Regions from separate parts of the Homo sapiens genome. Here all the other regions are linked to region 3. The links are contacts of gene promoters, found by promoter capture Hi-C in human tissues and cell types (Jung and others, 2019). All regions are on one chromosome and are shown on one strand. The core of a region is centred on a gene start or on the middle of the fragment in contact, and the rest is flanking DNA. Distances in the headings are between cores, read along the strand shown. Region 1 overlaps ATP11AUN (ATP11A upstream neighbor lncRNA). Region 2 overlaps DCUN1D2 (defective in cullin neddylation 1 domain containing 2). Region 3 holds the start of PROZ (protein Z, vitamin K dependent plasma glycoprotein). Region 4 overlaps ADPRHL1 (ADP-ribosylhydrolase like 1). Region 5 holds the start of ADPRHL1 (ADP-ribosylhydrolase like 1).

Region 1 (2,700 bases), core at 194-2,693, 470 kb after region 3:
TGGCTCACGCCTGTACTTCCAGCACTTTGAGAGGCCAAGGTGAGACGATTAGGCAACATAGCAAGACCCCATCTCTACAAAAAAACACAAAAAAATAAAATTAGCTGGGCATGGTGGCCCACACCTGTAGTCCCAGCTACTCAGGAAGCTGAGGTAGGAGGACTGCTTGAGCCCGGGAGGTTGAGGCTGCAATGAGTTCCCATCATGCCACTGCACTGCAGCCTGGGTGACAGAGTGAGACTGTCTCAAATAATAATACTAATAAAATAGCACTTCCCAGGCAGCCTTTCTCCAGACATTTTGACTCAGTTGGTTTGGAGTGGGGTCCAAGCTTTTGTAAAAGCTCCCAGTGTAGCAGGTTTCTGAGTCGTTCATCTCAATGTCTGTCTCCCACCTGAACGTGAACCTGTTGGATGATCAGTTATCATCAGTTATCGACCTTTCTCTCCTCAGGCATAGCGTGGTGCTCAGCAGATGCTGAAAGAATTAGTTAACCTGCTATTTTAGCTGACGAGCACTAACAAAATGAAGAGCATAAGGCGTGAGCACTCGCAGAGTGAAAAGTGCCCCGTGCAAGGCCATCTATCCCGCATGACTCCTGTCACCGGGAAGGAGAGCTATGGAGAGTGAGGTCCTGCTCAAACGCCCCCTGAGATCATCTGCCATGCTCTGCCAGGCCATTTGTCCTGGAACGTGACGTAGAACATTGTCTCCTGTTCCGGGAAAGGGCCACATATGCAACATGGCCCTCAAACGCCGAAGGAGCTGAGAAACCAAAGAATAAGCCAGACCAATGAAATCTGTCAGTAAAGGGTGTTTTATTGGGGGAACCTACAGACAGAAGCATGGTCTTGGGTGGCTGGAGGACAGGCAGGTCTCTGCCCCTGTCACCCCAGACCCAGGGCTTCTGTGCCGTAGGGAAGAGGTGTAAGTGCTCTTTGCAAGACAACTAAAGGCAGCCCTTCAGAACAGGCAAGAGTGGTAGATGCGTCATGGCCCATAATTTGTGTGATCACATCAAGGCTGACATGTTCATATACTAGGGACAGGAAATCACATAGGAATTGGGAGGCGCTCAGGGGACTGGCGCCGGTCTGAATTCAGCATGGTGGATCAGCACCCAAGAGGAGTCACTACTGACTGGCCCCACATCTTCCTGTGCCCAGGAGGAGTTTGTGGGGCAGGGCCTCTGATTATTTTTGAAAATCTAGTTTAATTTGGTCATTACATTGGTGTCAAAAATGGAATAAGTTAAATTTCATTGTACTTCTTAATAAAAAAATTTGAATGGCATAAGTGCCAATCTCAAAGCATAACAACATTTAATATTCCAGACAATGCTGGTGTGAGCTCCGCTGAGAAAACTTTCACGGCATCTGGGGATTCCTGTGAGCTCCACTGTGAAAACTTTCACCGCATCCCGGGATTCCTGGACATGCCTGGGTTTAGTTGTCAGGGGATCTCATATTTGTTACTTTCACACCCATCCTGAGACACCATGAGTTCTTGAATTCTGCACCTTTGAGACTTTTGTCTCCTCTGTCACTTGAAGTCTTTTTCTTGTTAAAGTTTCTTCCTTCAGGTGTTCAGATGCAGGTCAGGAGCGAGACTGGATAAGCCGTGGTCTCCAGGTCTTTTCTCCTCGACAATGAGCGATCATTGGCTCCGTTTCACACCTAACGATGGGTAATCATGCAAAGTGGTTGCTTGTCCCAAAGCGAGCCTAATCGGGATTAATTTTGCTTCTCAATGTCCCATTTTTATTTCTCAGTAAGAATACAGGAAAGTATGGTAAGAATTCTTTTCTTATTTATTTTGTACACTCCCTTCTCCTTTGTTTTATTTCTCTAAAGGATCAATGATTTTAATTCCAGTTTTCTTCCAGAAAAAAACAACTAAGTTGTGTAGTGCTTAAAATTACCGATAAAGTAATGAAAGCAATTTGTTGGAATCATCTGTCTGAACAGTAACTTTAATATAGACCATTATAGCTCCTCTCCAACAGAGTAAAGATGATAGGGTATCTGAAATAAGAGGTGGATGATAATTAGAAATTTAGCATTATTCAAAGTAATTCGTACCTTTGGTCAAGCAAGTTGCTTGGATATTACATAACATCACTTTAATGAATGTTCAATTTATGAAAATCAAACTTTTTACTTTTAAAGGTAAAACTAAACTGTTTACTTTCTACAAAACTGAAAACTCACCCCTTTGCTTTTTTTTTTTTTTTTTTTTTTTTTGAGAGAGAGTCTTGCTCTGTTCCCAGGATGGGGTGCAATGATGCGATCTCGGCTCACTGCAATCTCTGCCTCCCAGGTTCAAGCAATTTTCCTGCCTCAGCCTCCCGAGTAGCTGGGATTACAGGCGCCCACCACCACACCTGGCTAATTTTTGTATTTTTAGTAGAGACAGGGTTTTACCGTGTTGGCCAGGCTGGTCTTGAATTCCTAACCTCGTGATCCACGTGCCTCGGCCTCCCAAAGTGCTGGGATTACAGGTGTGAGCCACCGCGCCTGGCCACCCCTTTACTTTTTTAAAGAGAAAGATAAAATGGTTTCCCTTAAAATATTTTTCATCTATTGTAACTTATAAGAATACTTAAATATTCTTAGATAACTGGAAATTATCTCAGTCTACTCAAAAAGCCAAAAAAGTATGAAAAAAAATGGTTTTGAATATATGCTGCTCAGTGAAGCC
Region 2 (2,700 bases), core at 87-2,586, 320 kb before region 3:
TTTCCAATTTTGAATTGACAGTAAATGCCAGGTTCAGTTCATTCGTGTTATTTCATAATACTGTATATTAAACGTAGAATTTCTTATGCTGCTCTGTTAAAAACTAAGATGTCATTTTGGTTTTTGCTTGTAACATTTTTCTATTCTACCTACAGGATTGGGATAAAGGCTTCATTAATAACTTAAGGTGTTTCTCGCTTATCAGATAAGTTATAAAAGTAAATGAAAGGGCCTAATGTAACTGTCTCTTAATCATTAAGCTTACTGAACTACAGTCATGCACTACATAATGACATTTCGGTCAACAGTGGACCGCTTATACAACAGTGGTCCCGTAAGGTTAGAATGGGGCTAAAAAATTCCTACATCCCAGCCATCATAGTGTCATAGCACAATACATTGCCTGTGTGTGGTGATGCTGGCACAGACAAACCTACTGCACTGCCAGTCGTATAAAAAGCATAGCGCATCCAGTTATGTGCAGTATATAATACTTGATAATATAAAGGCTTATGTTACTAGCTTATTTACTCAACTTTTTATTATTTTCGAGTGTACTCCTACTTGTTTGTTTGTTTGTTTGTTTTTTGAGATGGAGTCTTACTCTGTCACCCAGGATGGAGTGCAGTGGCACGATCTTGGCTCACAGCAAACTCCGTCTCCTGAGTTCAAGCGATTCTCATGCCTCATGCCCGGCTAATTTTTGTATTTTTAGTAGAGACGGGATTTCACCATATTGGCCAGGCTGGTTTTGAACTCCTGACTTCAGGGGACACACCACCTTGCCTCATCAGCCTCCCAAAGTGCTGGGATTACAGGCGGGAGCCACCGTGCCTGGCCCAGATGGATTTTTAAATATCACCTGTTCATATTGTTTAAAATAGATACAACTAAAACAGCTTTGAGGCATACAGGAACTCTACAGATAAGGAGGACCATTTCATAATGATAAAGGGCTTATCTCACCAAGAAGGCAGTCACACTTACGTTTTTATGTATTTGTTGAAGAGTCCCAATGTATTTAAAGCAAAAATAAGCAACTACAAAGAGAAAGATACAAATCCATGATCAAAGTGAGGAATTTTCACACACATCGTAGTAACTGATGGAATGAGTCAATGAAAAATTAGTGAGGAAATAGAAGATTTGGACAGCACAACAAATGGCCTAGGAGAACATTTAGAATGTTGCCTTCGATGCTTAAGAATACATATTCTTTTCAAAAGAAAACACAGAACAGCCTGGCAGGAGAGATACCATCATCATGAAGGTGATTTTCCCAGAGCTGGGCTTATCCATTGCATTCTGGATGTGCTGACGCCTGTGGTTTTCCCAAATGTGGGAAACTGGACTGCATAATTTGTGGTAGTGGGGGACTATGTTCGTGTTCTCTCCTGGTGTTTAAAATTAAAAAAAAAAAAACTTTATTAAAGGCACAGAACATTAATAAAAATTGACAATAAACTGGGCTATTAAGTAAATTGCAACAATTTCCAGAGGTTTGAAATGATACAGAGTATGTTTTCTGACCACAGTACAGTTAAACTAGGAATATAACAAAAAGATAACTAGGGATATGTGTGGATATTGCATACCTCTAAGTAACCCTTGGGATGAGAAAGAAATTACAATGGAAATTAGAAAATATCTTGAATAATGAAAATACAATATATGTAAGCTTGTAGAATTCAGCTTATTAAATGCATATTTTAGAAAGAAGGAAAGGCTGAAAATCAGTGAGCAAAGCCTTCCATCTCAAGAAATAGAAAAAGAATATAGAAGGAAGGAATTAATATTTTTAAAGAAGCACTAATTTACAAGAATAATTAAATAGAAAAGAAGTTGTCATTAGGAAGGATCAATAAAGCTAGAAGCTTGTTATTTGAAAAGACTTGTAAATGTGGTAAATCACAAGTAACGTACGTAGATGAAAAGGGGGACGAGATAATAGGTGCCAGAAGCATTAAAAAAAAAAAAGTCATGTATGAAGAGCTTTATGCCAGTAAATTTGACAACGTATGTGAAAAATGTAATTTACTAAAACTGACACATGAAGAAATAGAACATCTTAATAGTTCTGTAACTCTTAAGAATTTGAGCCTGTAGTTTAAAATCTTCTCAAAGAGACAACTCCTGTTTGGGATGACTTAATTGGCACATCCTACCAAACTCCTAATGAAAAGGAAAATCCCCAATTTTAAACATCCTCTTCCAGAGAAGTAAAGGAAGAAAGATTTCACAATTTGTTTTTAAGGCCAGCAAAAGCTGCATGACAAAACCAAGGAAGAACATTTGAGAATGGAAAATTATAGGCCACTCTCAGCTGTAAGACTCAGAAGATGCATAAGATGATTATAAGATGCAAAAATCCTACACACAGTATCAGGAAACTGACCAGTCATTAGCAAAAAACCCAAGACGATAAGCCCAGGATGATACATCATGACAGAGTTGGTTATATCCAGGAATGCAAGATCCGTTTAATGTTACAGAGTCAATCGGTGTAATTAATTTACCATGGTTAACAACAGGAAAAAAAGGATCATCCCAGTGCATAAGATGGGTTTGATCAAATTCAATGTTTCTTCATTTAAAAAAAAAAAAAAAAACTCATAGAAAACTAAGAATAAGAGGGGCAGTTCTTAATCTGGCCAAAAGGAAAAAATTCCTATGGAAAACATTATACTTACTGGAATTGTA
Region 3 (2,700 bases), core at 199-2,698:
TCGAAGAGTTCTTCCAGAAGATAGGAGCCCGCACGCTTCCACCTCACCAGAACGTCGTTTGCTTTGGAGGCCGGGAGAAATACTACAGACGAGACAAGAAGGCAGGTGACTGGGAGCACCGAGGGCCCTGCTTTCCAGAGCTGCCTGGCTTCCTCCCCGGCCGGCCGCCAGCCCCAGCCCCGTCCGTCTCCACAGGCTCTCAGCCTGCGAGGGCCTCAGGGCCACCCCGCTACTCCCTCCCCCGAGGTAGGCAAGCACTTCATCCTCTGGGCGAATGGATCAGCCCCAGGATCAGTGCGGATACACTAAGGTTCTGCAGAGAGGCCACGGGCCTCAGTCAGGAAAGTGGAGGAGGGAGGGCTCCAACTGGGTTTTGGGTCTGAGTGCGAAGGAAGGCTGAGCTGGGGTCAAAGGTCCCCGTACTGAGAACTGGGGACCAAGAGCCATCAGCTCCTGTGCTGCCTCTGTGCGCAGCATTTAACATCTTGATAAAACACATAAAGAAGAAACTTATACATTGCAGCAGGCTCTGCGATTTCCAGGAGGAGAAGGCAAATGAGTTGACCCGCGGCAGTGGTCTCTGGAGCCTCTTCCCACCTGAGGGTCCCAAAGCATGTTCTCTCCCTCTCCGGGAGGGTCAAAGCCCAGGCCCTTCCCATCCTCCCTCCTTTTCTCTCGGTGCTGAGGGTTACAGCAGGGGGGGCTCAGCTAAGTCCGGCTACGGTAAGTGCTGGGCAGGGCAGGGCGGGGGGATCACCCTCTCAGGGTGGGAGACCATGGGGCCAGCGGGAGACCATGGGGCCAGCGGGGATGCTGGGTGTTTTGACTTGCAGCTTTCCTGGACGCCTGTGCAGGCAGAGTCAGAATGGAGTCCATGTCGTTCCTTCAGTGAAGTGGCTGGTGGTAGAAGGGTGGCAGGCAGGCAGGGTGGCTGCTCCCTGGCTATGTCTCCTGACTCAAGACTGGGCATTCCTGGCTGGCCTGGCCAAGGCTCTCTCTGCCCACATTGCAGTCTGGGCTCAGCCTGCCCCACCCCCTCCCCTCGTCCAATGCCCAACCCAGGCCTCCCCCCACTCCTCCCCCTTTCCCCCTCCCCTCTCCCCGGCCTTTCCCGGCTGAATCCCCTGCACACAGGCTTCTTTCCATTTGGGCATCTCTTGGGAGGACCCCAAGTGACACTATCATGTCCCAAATACTTGTCACCAAATGATAAAGATCCAAACAGCTTTTTCAGGGGAATTAAGACTAGTCTGGGCACTCAGGGCTCCTCTGGCTCCTGGAAAAAGCCTCATCTACAAATCCACCATGGACCGAGTCAAGAAAGACACAGCACAGGCACAACAGACAGGTAAGCCAGATGCCTACCTGAGGGCTCCACACGATGGAGGGCGAGGACCAGGACCAGGCCCTGGAGCAGTGGGACGCAGCCTGCCATTCCCACCCGGAGCGCTGGGACAGGGCTACAAACACAGCCAAAGTCCAGGCTGGGGGAGGTGCCGGCAGCAGGAGCCTCGGGGCACGACCTGTGCAGCTGTGTGCTTCCCTCCTGACGTTTTCTGTTTGAGGCCAGGCAGAGAAATGAACGGTGAAGGCTCAGAGGACCCTGGGAGATATTTAGGGAGACAGAGAACAGAAGGTAAAGGCAGCAGGTGCAAGGTGGAAGGTGGCACCCATGCCCGTGTGTGGTCAATGGAGGTGAGATAGGCCCTGGGGACACAGCACTGGGCGGGACAGACAAAGTCACATGCAGCTTACGTTCTAGGTGTGTGTGGAATACACAGAAAAGAACGAGGGAAAGAGACAGGAGGGAGTGAGGGAGGGAAAGCAGGAGGATGGAAAGAAGGAAGGGGAGAAAAGGAAGGGAGGGAGGGAGGAGGGAGAAAGCGGGGAAGGGCCAAATAGTGTCTGTCACTACAGCTCAGCACCATTGTAGCAGAGGCAGCATAGACAATCATGAATGAACACTTGGCTGTGTGCCAATAAAGCTTTATTTATAAGAGCTATTAAGGGGCCAGATTTGGCCCCAGGGTTGTCGTTTGCTGCTTTCAGATGTAGGCCCTGTGTATTAGTCCCTTCTTACACTGTTATGAAGAAATAGCCAAGACTGGGTAATTTAAGAAAAGAGGTTTAGTTGACTCCCAGTTCCACATGGCTGGGGAGGCCTCAGGAAACTTATAATTATGGCAGAAGGCACCTCTTCACAGGGTGGCAGCAGAGAGAATGACTGAAGCAGGGGAAATGCCAGATCCTTATAAAACCATCAAATCTCTTGAGACTCACTCACTATCCCAAGAATAGCATGGTGGAAACCACCCCCATGATTCAATTACCTCCCACCGGGTCCCTCCCAGGACACGTGGGGACTATGGGGATTACAATTCAAGATAAGATTTCGGTGGGGACACAGCCAAACCATATCAGCCCTTGAAGCCTGAGGTAAGAACCTGGTGTTTCATTTTCACTGTGTTGGGAAGATATTGGAGGGAACAGGAATTGACATGGAAAGATTTGTGCTCTGAAGGGATCACTGGGCTGCTGTGTGGAGAACAGAACATTCCAGAGAAGTCAAAAGGGAGGCTGCCGGCTAGTCCAGGAGGGGGTGAGGGTGCAGCCATGCAGCAGGAAGCACGTTTGCAGTCTGGATGCTTCAGGAAGGGAAAGCTGATGGGATTCATGATGAATTGTGTCGGGCAGCACGGC
Region 4 (2,700 bases), core at 48-2,547, 270 kb before region 3:
CCCACCGCAGAGCCTGCCTCTGGCCAATGGCGCCGTGACAGCAGGCTCGCCCCTCTCCTAGGTGGCTGTGGGCCTCAGACACACCCACAGGGTCCACAGCAGAACCTTCTGAAGCTAACATGGCTCCAAAACAGCAACACAACCTCTCAGCCCCACATGCCCCATCCACAAGAGGGGTGATCACCATGCCCTTCACAGGCTCTCGTGAGGACTGAGTGGCAGATGACACCCTGGGAGCAGTGCCCAGTGGGGCAAGGGCTCGGCAACGGGGGTCACTGCTCCCCTGCATGGCCACTCGCACTGTAACTACTGCCACCACCACAGCTGCTCCCATCGGCAGCACCACACCATCCCTACTGCTGCTGTCGCTAGCAACACTGTCACCGCCACCACTAGTGCCACTGCCACCCCCGCCACTGGTGCCACTGCCACCCCCGCCACTAGTGCCACCCCCGCCTTTTATCACTGCTCCGCTTTTGTCACCAGTACAGCCATCACCACTATGGCTGCTGCTACTGGTCCTGTCACCACTGATATCACCAGTTCCTCCACATGATACCGTCACTAGTACGACAACCACTGCTGCAGTCACTGGCACCACACTGTTCCCACCCTGACCGTCACGAGTACCACCACCATTGTTGCTGCTGCTACTGGTACTGTCACCACGGCCGTCACTAGTCCTCCCACACGACTGCATCTCTGAAACTACATCATGAGTACCATGGCCATCACTTCGCCTCCTGCCACTACTGACCCGCAGCGGCTGCAGTCCCCACGATGGCTAGCAGTGAGAGGAGAGAGCTCATGTCTTTGGAAGAGGCAGCCCCTCCAGGGCTGTCTCCACCCAGACGGTGACCACGGGATTTCCAGGACTGTCCTGCCAGCCCTGGGCATTGTTAGCCTCATTATGGCCAGGATCATCGTAATTCAGATCAGTCTCTTCCGAGCTCCTCTCTGATGGCTTGCACACTAGCGGAATGAGGCCACTGCAATGGTGGATGGGAGCCTAGTGGGGCCAGACGTGGCCATGTTCCCTGAGAGCTGCGCACCCAGTGCCACCTGCTCCGTGAGGTGCAGGGCTGGCTGTGTGGACTGCGGGGTGAGCTCAGTACCCCAGAAGCCGCTGGCTCCATCTTTCCCCACTGCCCTGGAAGATGGACCAGGACAGGCCTCCCGGACTTCTTCCTTAACCGTGTTTTATTAAATACATATATACTCGCATGCATTTATTTTTCAGTAAACAGTTGTAAAATTTGACATACCAAAGAAAATAAGGGAGGCAGTGCCTATAAGATGAGCTCTGAGCTTGTCTGTGCTGATGAGCTTGCTGGCTGCTAATGCACGCCCAGAAGTTAGGCAAGAAAAGCCCCAAGCACCAGCAGGGCGAGTGAGTCGGCCCCGCACAGGAAACGCCTGAGTGTGCACAACGGACCCAGAGCTCTGCGGGGTCGCTCTCAAGTCAGGAGAGCCCCCACCTCAGCCTTCTTCCTGCACAGGCTCGTTAACTGATAATCCCCGGCCACGGATGCTAAAGGTCTACGTGACGCGGTGTTCCCAATAGCCAAAGGCGGAGGCAGCTCATGCATCCACACACAGATGACGGGCAATCAAAATGCGTTCGTCCACGCACGGAATGCGATTCAGCCGCGGAGAGGAAGGGAAGCCGTGGCGAGCCACGCGGGTGAACCTGGGGATGCGTCCTGAGTGGAACACGCCCGCCACAAAGGGACAAATCGCGTGCGGTCCCACGAGGAGCAGGCACCCAGAGCAGTCACATCCGGAGACAGAAAAGTCAACTGGGGGCGGCCAGGGCCTGGGGAGGGCGGTGGGGTGAGTGGAGTGGGGACAGAGCTACAGTTTGGGAAGATGGGGAGTTCCAGGGAGGATGGAGAATGTCCACAGTGTGAACGTGGTTAATGCCGCCGAACTGTGCACCTGAACATGGGAAAGACGGAAAACGAGCAAACCCTTCCTCGGGAGTCCCACGCAGCGTGGCGGGCGGCCCCAGGCCCTCCCAAGCGGCCCAGGTGATGGTGCCCCCTCTCTCTTCCCTGCCCTCCAGGCTTCCTGGGCTCCCTGTGCACGGCCCTGTTTGTGTCGTTCGCCGCACAAGGAAAGCCCCTGGTCCAGTGGGGGAGAGACATGCTGCGGGCGGTGCCTCTGGCAGAAGAGTACTGCAGGAAGACCATCCGGCACACGGCAGGTGAGCCGCTCCCCCGGCCCCAGTCCGCACTCAGAGCAGATCTGGACAGATCCAGCCCCTCCATGGGCCCCCAAATACTTCAAGGCACTTTCGCTCTTAGATGGAACTGGGAGGGCCCTGTCCGGGCCATGTGAGCAGAGCTGGCCTCGCAAGGCAGGCCCCATGCTGCTCCTGACCAGTCTGCCTCTGCCCTGACCTGGGAGGCTTTGCCTCCCCACCCGGAGCCTCAGAGAGACCTGAGCCTGCCGGGGACATTTGCCTCCGGCGGGTCCACCCGTCCCCGTCCACCCCAGCCCGCGGCACCAAGCGACTGGCAGCCACTGGGATGTGAGTGGGACCTGTGGTGCCCCCTGGAAAAACTCTGCTTCTGCCGGTTTGGGCGAGCTCAGGGCTGGGCCCTTCCCTCAGGAGCCCCATGAGGCTGGCCAGAGGCAGGGACAGCAGGTATGGGACTAGGAAATCCGTGACGGTTCCGGAAGATTCTTCCACCCCAC
Region 5 (2,700 bases), core at 29-2,528, 290 kb before region 3:
CTGGCCTCAAAATCCTGAGCTCAGGGGATCCGCCCGCCTCGGCCTCCCAAAGTGCTGGGATTACAGCCATGAGCCACCGCGCCCGGCCTGCATGCTGGTTTTGAAGTTTGTTTCTGAATCTCAGGATCATGCTAGCTGGCATGACTGTGCTGATGGCTGCCTCCACCAGCAGACAGTGGAGGGTGAGGTGAACTCACTGCTTGAGATCCTCCGTTTTAACAAGTGCTGATATAACGCCAGGCGGTTAAATGCTTCCTACTGTCTCGCTGTACACTACGAGAGTTTTTATCAGACGCATTTCTTCAGTCCAGGTGTAACTCTTTGCTTCCCCTGGGTCTGATGGAAACCAGGCCCCGAGGAAGGAGACGGGAGAGACACAGCCCTGCTGGGCTCCCGGCCTCTGCGGAGAACTGTCCTGGGGTGGGGTCGGGAGATGGACTGTTTTCCTAATTTATTTCAAACCAGGAACCCTGGCTGTGTGCATTCTGCCTCACCCCCCGTCTCCATATTTTTTAATATTCTTTTCATGAGCTAGCAGGGATGATGTAAATACACTGAGCTGACCGAGGGCCGGATGGGAGGTTCTAGTGAAGCCTGCGGTTTGCTGACGACTTTCCCCCTCAGTGCAGTCCAATTATTTGGGAGCCGTTAAACACCGCATGCTGAGAAGACACCGTCATTGTTCACACAGGAGCTAGATAGACTTTGTTCCCTCTACACTGCATTTTTTAAAAGTTTTCTATCAAAAACACATTTCATAATCGAAAAGTTTTCTAAATGATAAAACCGCATGTCACAGATTAATCTCAACATTATGTTGAGTGAAGGAAGCCAGACACCGAAGGCCACACATTGTATTTGAAATGTCCAGGAAAGGCAGAACTGTAGAGACAGCAGATGGGTTGTTGCCCGAGGGGTGAGGGCACGCCCCGCAGCGGGCGGCAGTGACAGGCACGCCTGCACACATCTGCTCCCGCATCACCCCACGCCACACACGGGGAAGTGTGCGCACTCCTTCCAGGGACAGCGAGAGGAGCCCCTGCTCTGTCAACGCTCTGAATGTGCTGCGGCTGCCGGCAGAAGCTAGCAGGCTCCTCTGCTGAGGAGCTGGTGCCTGTCCAGACGCAGAAGAAAACTGACACCTCCCACGTGGGGGACAGAAAGGTCCTCTCATTGGTGCCACCTGCAGAGATAGACAAGGAGCGCCTGGCCATCAGAGGACGCTCCTGACAGTGACACAGTGACCACTATAAAAGTCAGGCGGGCTGAGGAGGAGACAAAGGCCAGGACGCTCCGCAGCTGTTGGGGAAGAGGAGCTGCCTCCTGGGATGGAGAAATTTAAGGCTGCGATGTTGCTGGGGAGCGTCGGCGATGCTCTTGGCTACAGAAATGTCTGCAAGGAGAACAGCACTGTAGGCATGAAGATCCAGGAGGAGCTGCAACGTTCCGGGGGCCTGGACCACCTCGTACTCTCGCCAGGAGAATGGCCCGTGAGTGACAACACCATCATGCACATCGCAACCGCCGAGGCCCTCACCACAGGTAGGCTGGGCCCACCGCGCTCCGGTGTGCGGGCTGGAGGGAACACTGGCTGCTCGAGTTCTCCCAGTAAGCCTCCGAGAGCTTTGAAGGCAGTGCGGTCCTTCAGCGGATGGTGTTACCTGATACCGCTGCTAAAAGTGGCAATTTAATCTGAGTGTCCCTCAAATTTGATATGCGGCAGATCACGTTTCTCCTGTGGTTTCTCTGAGGGTGACAGTATTACTTTACTTTGCAGTTATTAAGATTCAGTTTTTAAACGTGACTTTTCACTTGTATTTGTAAAGCGTTAACTAGGCCTAGCACCTTCTGTTTCTAATAGAGTTAAAGCCAGTGAAGCCTCTCTCGGCCGTGCTGGTGGGAGTAGGGTGAGGGCTCACTTCTCGCTGCAGAGATTAAGCCTTCTTGTTCTGAATTCATTACAAAGGGATGTAAAATAAGCCAGTTTGAAATGTGAACCCATTAATACTGTTTGGGGATTAGTTCTAAATTCCAATGAATTAAAGTTAGAATATCATCTCCCAAAATGGTTCAGCTTGGAGAGTTGCCCATACACAAATGTGTTCTAAGAAAATGACATAAACTTGATTGGACGAGATTGGAGACAAAGCTTCTTAAAATACCTTTAAGTAGCAAATTGATTTTAGGATCAAGCTTTTGCATGAATTTCAGGGAAATGGCAGGTGCACAGACATGCAGTCCAGCTTTCCTACGAGGCATTTGCTCTTCAAAACCCCGTGGGTGCTGTTTATCATGGCAGAATTAAAATCTGAGGGCTGCAGCTAAGTCAATGAAATCTCACTTATGCGTTCACTCCACCATTCTGTTCATCTGCCATGGACGTGCCCAGTTTAGTTCTGTGCTCACAGCAGAGGAATGCCATCGAGCCTGTGGCCGGTCCCTAAATAACGGGAGAGCTGAAGCGCCGGCGATAAGATAAGGCTCCCGGCTTGCTGGAGACGGGGAGGCGTCCGACTGTTCACAGCCTTGGCGTCCAGGAGCTCCTGCTTCTGGTTTTCCAGGCGGCCACTCGTGTGCCCTTAGGACCAGCAACCCCATGCTTGTGCCCCGCAGCCCAGAACAGGTGCACCCCACACACAGACACCTGTGGGACACAGCTCCGGCTTGTTTTCACCGTAGACGGCTGGAGCTCACTCTTGA

What was found. Contacts are between HindIII fragments. The study calls those that stand out against the background at their distance.
Region 1: a fragment that was not itself captured here is called in contact with the fragment with the promoter of PROZ in region 3 in 1 of the 25 tissues and cell types used here (heart left ventricle).
Region 2: a fragment that was not itself captured here is called in contact with the fragment with the promoter of PROZ in region 3 in 5 of the 25 tissues and cell types used here (IMR-90 fibroblasts, aorta, dorsolateral prefrontal cortex and 2 more).
Region 4: a fragment that was not itself captured here is called in contact with the fragment with the promoter of PROZ in region 3 in 2 of the 25 tissues and cell types used here (heart right ventricle and liver).
Region 5: the fragment with the promoter of ADPRHL1 here is called in contact with the fragment with the promoter of PROZ in region 3 in 3 of the 25 tissues and cell types used here (H1 embryonic stem cells, IMR-90 fibroblasts and adrenal gland).

The regions. Positions count from the first base shown.
Region 1 is chr13:112,682,598-112,685,297 of GRCh38, reverse strand. ATP11AUN (ATP11A upstream neighbor lncRNA) reads right to left here. Exons shown (of 3, transcript NR_164109.1): 3 at 801-2,024. Among named protein-coding and RNA genes, the nearest start is that of ATP11A, 6.1 kb to the left of the region's middle. The HindIII fragment of the contact is 7,909 bases long and covers 1-2,700 here.
Region 2 is chr13:113,477,612-113,480,311 of GRCh38, reverse strand. The region is part of intron 3 of DCUN1D2 (defective in cullin neddylation 1 domain containing 2); the gene reads left to right. It also overlaps the pseudogene RNU1-16P. Among named protein-coding and RNA genes, the nearest start is that of DCUN1D2, 12 kb to the left of the region's middle. The HindIII fragment of the contact is 4,398 bases long and covers 1-2,700 here.
Region 3 is chr13:113,157,396-113,160,095 of GRCh38, reverse strand. It overlaps PROZ (protein Z, vitamin K dependent plasma glycoprotein), which reads right to left and starts at 1,448. Exons shown (of 8, transcript NM_003891.3): 1 at 1,366-1,448; 2 at 1-82. The coding sequence starts at 1,435. RefSeq lists enhancers at 234-811, 1,388-1,965. The HindIII fragment of the contact is 7,105 bases long and covers 1-2,700 here.
Region 4 is chr13:113,428,458-113,431,157 of GRCh38, reverse strand. ADPRHL1 (ADP-ribosylhydrolase like 1) reads left to right here. Exons shown (of 8, transcript NM_001394807.1): 4 at 2,066-2,206. Among named protein-coding and RNA genes, the nearest start is that of ADPRHL1, 24 kb to the left of the region's middle. RefSeq lists an enhancer at 1-405. The HindIII fragment of the contact is 8,177 bases long and covers 1-2,700 here.
Region 5 is chr13:113,452,066-113,454,765 of GRCh38, reverse strand. ADPRHL1 (ADP-ribosylhydrolase like 1) reads left to right here and starts at 1,278. Exons shown (of 8, transcript NM_001394807.1): 1 at 1,278-1,542. The coding sequence starts at 1,329. The HindIII fragment of the contact is 9,965 bases long and covers 1-2,700 here.